Linked DNA regions of Homo sapiens: region 1 is linked to region 2. The links are contacts of gene promoters, found by promoter capture Hi-C in human tissues and cell types (Jung and others, 2019). All regions are on one chromosome and are shown on one strand. The core of a region is centred on a gene start or on the middle of the fragment in contact, and the rest is flanking DNA. Distances in the headings are between cores, read along the strand shown.

Region 1 (5,444 bases), core at 41-2,540, 1.6 Mb after region 2:
TGCTCTTTGGTCTCGGCTGCAGAAGCAAGACGAAGGGAACGTCAACGTTTGGCAAGCGTTGCAATAAGACACACAGGTTGTGCCACCAATATGGCTCTAAGGCCTACCACCTTCAGAAGTCGACCTGTGGCGGGCCAGGCGCGGTGGCTTACGCCTGTAATCCCAGCACTTTGGGAGGCTGGGGCGGCGGGGGCGGGGGGGGGGGGGGGGAACATGAGGTCACGAGTTCAAGACCAGCCTGGCCAACATGGTGAAATCCCGTCTCTACTAAAAATACAAACAAATTAACCGACCACAGTGGCAGACGCCTGTAATCCCAGCTACTCAGGAGGCTGAGGCAGAAAATTTCTTGAACCTGGGAGGTGGAGGTTGCAGTGAGCCAAGATCACACCACTGCACTCCAGCCTGGACAACAGAGTGAGACTCCATCTCCAAAAAAAAAAAAAAAGTCGACCTGTGGCAAATGTGGCTACCCTGCCAAGCACAAGAGGAAGTATAACTGGAGTGCCAAGGCTCAAAGATGAAATGCCACTGGGACTGGTCGAATGAGACACCTAAAAGCTGTATACCACAGATTCAGGCATGGATTTCGTGAAGAAACAACACCTAAACACAAAAGGGCAGCTGTTGCAGCATCCGAGTCATCTTAACAATTTCAACCGATAGGCCGGGTGCGGTGGCTCACCCCTGTAATCCCAGCACTTTGGGAGCCAAGGCGGCTGGATCACAAGGTCAAGAGATCAAGACTATGCTGGCTGACATGGTGAAACCCCGTCTCTACTAAAAATGCAAAAAAAAATTAGCTGGTCATGGTGGCACATACCTGTAGTCCCAGCTACTCGGGAGGCTGAGGCAGGAGAATTGCTTGAACCTAGGAGGCAGAGGTTGCAGTGAGCCAAGATCGTGCCACTGCACTCCAGCCTGGGCAACAGAGCGACACTCCATCTCAAAAAAAAAAAAAAAAACTTTCAACCATTAGTCATGCAATAAATATTCTGTTTTTTTAAAATAATAATAAAAATTTAAAAAGAATTTCCCTTCATGAAGGGCTCCAAACAGCCTTGGAATGGCTGCATTTATAAACTCAAGTCAGCAGAATTGGGAATGTGGTTGGTGGGCCCACGGAGTCCAGGAGAGTCAGGGGAGAATGCTTCCTTACCCCCTACCAAGCTAGTTAGTCCCAGAACTTTATCATTAAGGTTCTTTATCTAGGGTCTATGGACTGGTCCATAGATGAGACCATTTTGTTTAGTGTAAAATATTTTTAGTGGATACAGCAATGCATTGTTCTTGGGAGAGGGCCCATTGTATTCATTATATTCTCAGAGGAATAGTGAGCAGAAAACAATTAGCAACCATCACCTTAAGAGTTCAGCAATGGTGGCAAAGAGAGGGAATTAACGGGATAACACATAACAGATTAAATTATTAAAAACAGATGTCATGGCTGGCACGGTAGCTCACGTCTGTAATCCCAGCACTTTGGAAGGCCAAGGTAGGTGAATCACGAGGTCAGGAGTTCGAGACCAGCCTGGCCAACATGGTGAAACCGCGTCTCTACTACAAATACAAAAAATTAGCTGGGCGTGGTGGCAGCCACCTGTAATCCCAACTACTCGGGAGGCTGAGGCAGGAGAATCGCTTGAACCCAGGAGGTGGTGGTTGCAGTGGGCCAAGATCGCGCCACTGCACTCCAGCCCAGGTGACAATACGAGAGACCATCTCAAAAAAAAAAAAAAAAAAAACAGATATTACAATCAGAAGCTTCAAAACATCTAGTCCAAGTTCTGATTATTCTCTTTAGTGTAAGGTTTATGACATGGTGGGAATTCTTTTTCATTTATCCCTGGCATTTAACCAAGACAAAAGGCTGGGCCCTGGAGGTCTACTCCAGAGGGCCATAGGACCCAGGATTTTAGGGAAGGGAAGGAGAAGGATCTTCATGGTGTATCTTCTCAGAGGATTGAGGCACAGCAGAGACCTGAACCCCAGGACACTTGCTAATGCCTGTCAGATGGAGGGCACTTGCCTAGGTGCCACGAGCGACGTGCTACCAAACCTTGTTGCACCAAGAGACAGCCCAATGCACTGTAGTCAGTGCTAAGGAGAGAGAGGCTTTGATCCAGGTTCCTGAGTTCCACTCAGTTGTGTCAATTACCTCTGAGGGTATGGAAGTGGCTCCAAGGATGCACATGTTTGCCCTCTGCCCAAGCTGCCAGGGGAAAGCAGCTAAGTGTTGGCCTTGAAAAAGTGAGCACGGAACTAAGAAGCACCAGCTTATGTTCTGCTCCCTCTGTCTGGCCCTTCCTCTCTCCCCCAGCTTAGAGGCCTCCCAGAGGTAGTTAACTGGTCCTTTAAGCAGCTGCCATCCCCTGCAGCCCTTCAGGCCCTGACTTGCAGGTTCTCTGTGCAAGCTTGGCTCAGCCTTTTTGGAAATATAATAGGTATAATACTGTTAAAATGAGGATACTGGAGGAAAAAAGAAGAAAAAATAAGCATGGCAGAGGAAGTAAATGCTAAGATATATAGCTGCCAAGCATGGTGGCTCATGCTTATAATCCCAACACTTTGGGAGGCTGAGGCGGGACAGTCATTTGAGGCCGGGAGTTCAAGACCAGCTGGGCAACAAAGTGAGACCTTGTCTGTCTGTCTCTCTCCTCCCCCCGCCCCCCCACCCCCGCCCCCGTCTCCCTCTCTCTCTCCATATATATATATATATATATGGCAACAAAGTGAGACATTGTCTCCATATATATACATATATATATATATATGGCAACAAAGTGAGACCTTGTCGCCATATATATACATATATATATATATGGCAACAAAGTGAGACATTGTCTCCATATATATACATATATATATATATATATATATATATGGCAACAAAGTGAGACCTTGTCTCCATATATATACATATATATATATATATATATATATATGGCAACAAAGTGAGACCTTGTCTCCATATATATACATATATATATTTTTTTCTTTTTCTTTTTTTTTTTAGACTGAGTCTCACTCTGTCGCCCAGGCTGGAGTGCAATGGTACGATCTCTGCTTGCTGCAACCTCTGCCTCCCGGGTTCAAGCTATTCTCCTGCCTCAGCCTCCCAAGTAGCTGGGATTACAGGCACACACCATCACGCCCGACTAATTTTTGTATTTTTAGTAGAGATGAGGTTTCACCATGTTGGCCAGGCTGATCTCAAACTCCTGACCTCAAGTGATCCACCCACCTCGGCCTCCCAAAGTGCTGGGATTACAGGCGTGAGCCACCGCATCTGGCCTCTAAACATATTTTTAGATAAAAACTGTAAGATCTATAGCCAGGGGAAGGGCAGCTGGCTACCGTGTTCTCATTTCCATTCTGCTCACCAGTTATGCAACACCCACTGAATGTCAGGTCCAAGTGATAGAAAGATAGGTGCCCCCATGCTTCTTGCCCAGGAGGAGGTCATATCTAGTGGCCAGAGGGATGAGTAAAAAGCCATTAAAATAAAAAGTAGTGCATGTTATAATAAAGGTATGAGTAATCAGCCATGAGAACCAGAGGAGGGAGTAATTAAAAATAATAATAATAATATGCCTGGAAGTGTCAGTGTTTAGCAGAGAAAGTAATATTCCAGCCAGCCTTGAAGAATGAGTAAGAATAATAAGAGTTAATAATTATTGAACATTTCCAGTGACCAGGCATTGTATACATTCATTATCACATGATCTTAGTAGCTACTATTATTTTCTCAATTTTGCTGATGAAGAGCAGAGGTTCATAGAGCTTAAACAACTAGGATTTCCCTACCTAGGATATGGTAGAGGTAAAGAGTATTCCAGCGGGCAGCAGTAGCTCATGCCTGTAATCCCAGCACTTTGGGAGGCCGAGGCGGGCGGATCACCTGAGGCCAGGAGTTCGAGAGCAGCCTGACCAACATGGAGACACCCCATCTCTACTGAAAATACAAAATTAGCCGGAAGTGGTGGTATATGCCTGTAATCCCAGCTACTTGGGAGGCTGAGGCAGGAGAATCGCTTGAACCCGGGAGGCAGAGGTTGCAGTGAGCTGAGATCGCACTATTGCACTCCATCCTGGGCAACAAGAGTGAAACTCCATCCCACCTCAAAAAAAAAAAAAAAAGAGTATTCCAAGTAGAAAAAATGGGCAAAGGCTTGGAGGGGGGAGAAGGTACACTGGAAAGTGAGATGCCAATTATTTGTACAGTCCTTGCCACTTTACAAAAGCTTCTGGAAATGCCACACTTAATCCTCAGGGAAACCTTGAGAGGTAGGAATTTTCACTATTCTATATTGCAAAATATAGGCTGCAAAAATAGGCTTCAAAGAAGGTAAGAGATGCAGATTAAAAACCTGAACCTCCATCTAAATCTAAGGTAAGGGTTTTCTGTTCATTGCCCCATCACTACCAGACCTTGTACTTGAAAATAATGGTCCAGTGGTGAGATACACTGAGGAATCCCCTCACCCCATGGGCCACCTCTGGGCCTTTGTATTCTGTAGCTATGGAGGAGCTATGGAATAGTGTTTTTCTTTGTATGAGGTTACCAAGCAAACTGACCTTTGACCACCTTACTGAATAAATAATAATCAAGCAAAATTCTGGAGTCCTTTTTTTTTTTTTTTTTTTTTTTGAGACATAGTCTCCCTCTGTTGCCCAGGCTGGAGTGCAGTGGCGTGTTACCTCCCGGGCTCAAGTGATTCTCCTGCCTCAGCCTCCCAAGTAGCTGGGATTACAGGTGCCCACCACCACGCCCAGCTAATTTTTGTATTTTTAGTAGAGATGGGGTTTCACCATGTTGGCCAGGCTGGTCTCAAACTCCTGACCTCAAGTGATCCGTGCACCTCAGCCTCCCAAAGTGCTGGGATTATAGGCATGCGCTTTGCAATCTCAGCTCACTGCAACCTCCACCTCCCGGGTTCAAGCAATTCTCCTGCTTCAGCCTCCCGAGTTGCTGGGACTACAGGCGCGTGCCACCACGCCCAGCTAATTTTTGTATTTTTAGTAGAGATGGGGTTTCACCATGTTGGCCAGGATGGTCTCGATCTCTTGACCTCATGATCCACCCACTTCAGCCTCCCAAAGTGCTGGGATTACAGGCATGAGCCACCGCACCCAGCTGGCAACCACTGTTAACATTTTCTTGGGTATCCTCTTTTTTTTTTTTTTTTTTTGAGACAGTCTCACTCTGTTGCCCAGGTTGGAGTGAAACAACACGATCTCAGCTCACTGCAACCTCTGCCTCCCAAGTTCAAGCAATTCTCCTGCCTCAGCAGGAGTAGCTGGGATTACAGGCGCCTGCTGCCATGACCAGCTAATTTTTGTATTTTTAGTTTAGACGAGGTTTCACCATGTTGGCTAGGCTGGTCTCGAACTCCTGACCTCAGGTGATCCACCTCAGCCTCCCAAAGTACTGGGAGTACAGG
Region 2 (4,830 bases), core at 41-2,540:
CATGAATCAACTTGGAGGACATACTAAGTGAAAAAAGCCAGGCACAGAAAGACACATACCACATGATCTCACTTATATGTGGAATCTTAAAAAGTCAAACTCATAGAAGTAGACAGTAGAATAGTTGTTAGAGGCTGGAAAGGGACGGGGCGGGTAGGAGATGCAGGATGGGGAGATGCTGTTCAAAGGGTACAAGGTTCAGTCAGACAAAAGCAGCAAGTTTCTGAGATCTATTGCATAGTGTGGTGACTATAGCTAATAATAATATATCGTATATCTCAAAACTGCTAAGAGTAAATTTCAAATGTCTCACCATAAAAAACGTTAAACAAGGTGATGGATATGTTAAGCTTGACTTAGTCGTTCCATATTGTATACATATATTAAAATATAACATTGTACCCCATTAAATATTTACAATTATGATTTGTACATATATTTAATAATAATAAAAATCTAAATAAAATATTAAAGAATGCCTACAAAGCAAGGTTTAAGATGTAAATGAACACAGTAGTATCACGGAAGGGATTAAATATTGTAACATTTATTGAGCACTACGTATATATTTTTGAATTCCCACAACCCTGGAAGAATGAGAAAATCGAGACTCAGGGAGCGTTAAGTATTTTGCCCAACTGCATACGATAAATACATAGGAAAAACAAACACACAGAAGAAAACCAAACCAACCAAAGTATCTCTTTCAAAAGGAAACGACAGTCTCCTTAAAGGCAACCCGAGACAAATTTCAGCAAAGCCGTGGGACACATGGCCTTCGAGCTGCTGTCCATTATTGAGTAGCAGAAGCCAAGAAGGATGGAATGTTTTGGAAGAAAGGGGTCGGGGGTCGGGGTGTTCAAAGGACGGACCGAAGGTAAGATTGAAGTGGGGTCAGACCATGGCGGGACAGCGCACCGGAGAATGAACAGCGATTAGGGAAGAGTGGCGAGCGGGTGGCAAGGACGGAGGGCGGAATCCCGGCCGGGGCTGCGGGAGGAAAGCGCACGGACAGGAGCCCCACCGCTCGAATGCAGCGCCCGGCGGCTGGCCTCGTGAGGTCACAGGCCCTTACGAGGTGGGGCAGGCAGGCGCGGCCGCAGTGCCTTCCAGTCAGCGCGGAGGCGGTATTGAGTTCAGCCGCTCCCCACAGCCCCGGAGCCCCTGGGCGGTGGCGGTGGCCGCGGCAGCACCGGCTCGACAGCCGATAGGGTCCTGGGCCCGCTCCGCTCGGGGTGGTCGGTGGGCGGAGCGTCGGGCTCGGTCAGGTGACCGCGGGGGCGGGGCCGCGCGGCGCGGGATCCTGGGAAGGCTGCAGAGCTAGAGCAGCGCCGCCCGAGGGGCGGCAGGGGCTGACCACAGAGAGCGCGGGGGCCTCCAGCCGAGAGGAAGGGAGGGCAGCTCGGGCCGGTAGTGGGACCCTTGGGGGACAGAGGTGGGGAGGGGAGGCGAGACCCGCTGAGGAGTTGGGAGGGGAGCCTTCGAGGTGGAGGGTGGAGAATGCAGTAGGGTGCGAGGGAGGAAGGAGAACAGTGGTGGGGCTGGGTGAAGGAAGGTTCCAGAAAGGAACAGTGAGGGGACTGAGTGGGACAAAGGGGCAGATTGAAGGGTGACTGAGACTGATCAGGTGGTTCCTCAGAAATGGTGGTTGTTGTAGAAGGCTGGCGGTCCCGGGGGTGGTGTCACTTCCCTGCTCCTTCAGCGGGAGGCGGAGACCTCTATTAGCACACTCATTTCCATCTTGCGGGTCGTTCACTCGCTAGCTTACAGGTCCTCTTTCTTCCTGTAGAAGTCGTTGGCTTCGTAAGAGCAGGGTCTATGGGAAGCCTCCTCAGCGTGGGTTCTTGGAAGAGGTGGAGGTTCGTTCACTCGACGTTTGTTACACAAATATGAAAACAGGGTGACGAAAGTTTGAACGTTCATGAATGGCAGTAGCTGCAATGGAGTTGTGTATGCAGTTGGTATTAATGACGTTTTCAGTCCCTCTGGCGAGAGAAAAGCGAGCGAGTCGGGCGGCTTGTGAGGGAAATGTGGCATGAGAGGAAAGAGGAAGGTATTTTGTGAAAGGATGTCATACAGAGTCATGCTTCAGTGAAGACGCCTTTGTTTTTCTCATCTTAAAGCCTCACAGCCCCATTTTCCTCTCAGCTACTGCCTTATTTCTCTTAACAACGTAACTCCTTGAAAGAGCCTACCCTACTGGCTGGGTTCAATTTCTTTACCCCGTTCTCTCTTGTACTCACTCTGACGACATTGTCTCCTTACCACCCCACCCAGATGGCTCCTTTCAAGTTTGTCAGTGTCCTCCGTGTTGTGAAACCTAGCGAACCATTCAGTACTGATCTTAACCGCCCACCCCACCCCCCTTTTTTTTTTTTGAGACAAGGTCTCTGTCGTCCAGGCTGGAGTGCAGTGGTGCAATCATAGCCCACTGCAGCTTCAAACTCCTGGGCTCAAAAGATCCTCCTGGCTCAGTCTTTGGAGTAGCTGGGACTAAGGTCGCCATGTCCAGCTGATTAAAAAAAAAATTCTGTAGAGGTGGGAGTTTCACTGTTGCCCAGGCTGGTCTTGAACTCCTGGCCTTAAGCAGCCCTCCTGCTTAGACCCCCACCCCCGCATCAAAGTGTTGGGATTACCTGCATAAGCCACCATGCACAGCCTGATTGCTCACTCTTGAAGTACTTTCTTCACTTGGCATTCAGGAACCCAGACCTACCTGATTTCCCTCCTCACAGTAACCAGAGTGATCCTTTCAGAAAGAACTTCAGATTATGTAATCCTTCTCCTCAGAACTCTTTCAATGCTTGTCACTCCTTCAGAGTACAAGCCACAGTTCTTACTGTCATCTAGGGGTCCTCCATGATATGCCACTTTCACTTAGCCTCTCTGATCTCTCCTGCTTCAGCCTCCTGGGGCCTTCCCACTATTCCTTGAACATTCTTCTTGCCTCGGGGCTTTTGTACTTACTTTTCTTTCTGGCTGAAATGCTCTTCCCTAAGATATTAATCAGCTCCCTACTTCAGTTCTTGCAGGTCTGTACTCAAAAGTCTCCCTCTCAGTAAGGTCTTCCTTGGCCACCCATTCTGTTCCCTGCATCTCTTCCCCTATACTACATTTCATATTCCCCTCCCTGCTTTACTTTTTTTTTTGTACTTATTGCAGATAACATACAATATGTTTTATTTTTCTATTTTATTATTTCACTCCCTGACTAGAACATAAGCTTCATGAGGGCAGATTTTATATATATATAAACAAAATATATATATATATATATATATATATATATATATATATAGCATATATATATTTTGTTCATTGGTATATCCCTAGAGCCTAGGAGAGAACCTAGTGCACACTAAGCATGCAGACATATACGTTGAATTCATGGATAGAAAGGTGAATGGATAGATGACTGGAGAAAAGGGATACGACTCCCTCCATTTCTCTTGATTTGTTCCTGCAAGTTCACCGATAGAAGACAGGATTGAAATAGTTGAGAAAAATTATATTGTCAGAGTTACAGGGAATAGACTTTCTAAGTTAATTTTTTCTTTTAAGTTTGGAGAGGCTTATGCGGTACCTGATTCATCCAGCAAATTAAGACCTGCCAACTTTTTGATAATCTCGTCAATAAATTACAGAACAATTGTTCCTTTCAAGATTTATTCAAAACGTGTCAACTCTGCTTAATTAAGCACTTTGATGATTTAAGAAATCTTGGTGAGTAGCTTAGTAGGAAGGGAATTTGTTCATTCATCCCTCTCTCCCTCTCTTTTCCCCTCCCTCCATACCATTCCTCCTTTCCTCTACTCTTTCCTTCATTATATATATACCATTGTATTTGATACTGTGAGAAATAATTTTAAGAATGATAAGTTACCAGTCCCAGTTCTTTATAAATTTAGGCTATAGTTGGTATAGGAGCTATACATATGAAAAATACAAATACAAGGCAAATGATTAATGTCAGTTAAATAGTGAAGACAAGAATAGTGAAGGCAGTAAGTGCTATGCACAGTAGTTTAGAGGTAAATATTGAACTGGTTGGAGAAGATCTAGAAGAGATTACGTAGGATGGGTTACTGGGGAGACCTGCATAGATTTCCAGTATTTTCTGAGATGAGTATTTTCAATGTGGTTCTATTTTATTTTAACATATTTTGAATTCCAGGAATGTTGGACATATCACATTGAAAAATAATGACTATAAACATATGTCAGAAATAAATAAAAATGATTTTAAGTACTCTGTCTTCATTAGAATATTAATACTTGCAGTTAAACTTTACAAGAAAAAGACTGATGATTATAACTAGCAATGTAATATAATGTAATATAGCTAGCACTGTGATAAATAGCTCATAAAATGTAACTCAGATGTGAGTTGAAAATATGAAAATTTGAGGAATTTCTAAGTGTTGGTTATCACATTTGCATAATGTGAAAGTCTTGAGTTTGAAGTGAGGCTACACCATCTTTTCTTTCTTTATTTTGTTTTGTTTTCTTTTGTTTTGTTTTTTTTGATACAGAGTCTTGCACCCAGGTTGGAGTGCAGTGGCGTGGTCTTGGCCCACTGCAACCTCTGCCTCCTGGGTTCAAGCAGTTCTTTGCCTCAGCCTCCTGAGTAGCTGGGATTATAGGTGCGTGCCACCACACTCGGCTAATTTTTGTATTTTCAGTAGAGACGGGGTTTCATCATCTTGGCCAGGCTGGTCTTGAACTCCTGACCTCGTGATCCACCTGCCTTGGCCTCTCAAAGTGCTGGGATTACAGATGTGAGTCACCATACCTGGCCTTTTTTTTTATTTTTGAGACAGTCTCACTGTA

Evidence for each region. The method cuts DNA at HindIII sites, captures the fragments that hold promoters and counts their contacts. A contact is called where the count stands out against the background at its distance.
Region 1: a contact is called between a fragment that was not itself captured here and the fragment with the promoter of EFCAB13 in region 2, in 1 of the 25 tissues and cell types used here (heart left ventricle).

What each region holds. Positions count from the first base shown.
Region 1 is chr17:48,899,102-48,904,545 of GRCh38, forward strand. All of the region lies in intron 1 of LOC105371814 (a long non-coding RNA gene), which reads right to left. It also overlaps the pseudogene LOC100419622. Among named protein-coding and RNA genes, the nearest start is that of UBE2Z, 6.6 kb to the right of the region's middle. The HindIII fragment of the contact is 4,077 bases long and covers 1-3,329 here.
Region 2 is chr17:47,322,665-47,327,494 of GRCh38, forward strand. EFCAB13 (EF-hand calcium binding domain 13) reads left to right here and starts at 1,291. Exons shown (of 25, transcript NM_152347.5): 1 at 1,291-1,410; 2 at 1,790-1,859; 3 at 3,562-3,723. EFCAB13-DT (EFCAB13 divergent transcript) reads right to left here and starts at 1,237. Exons shown (of 3, transcript NR_110880.1): 1 at 1,025-1,237. RefSeq lists a silencer at 1,020-1,429 and enhancers at 1,770-1,859, 1,900-2,079. The HindIII fragment of the contact is 8,264 bases long and covers 1-4,830 here.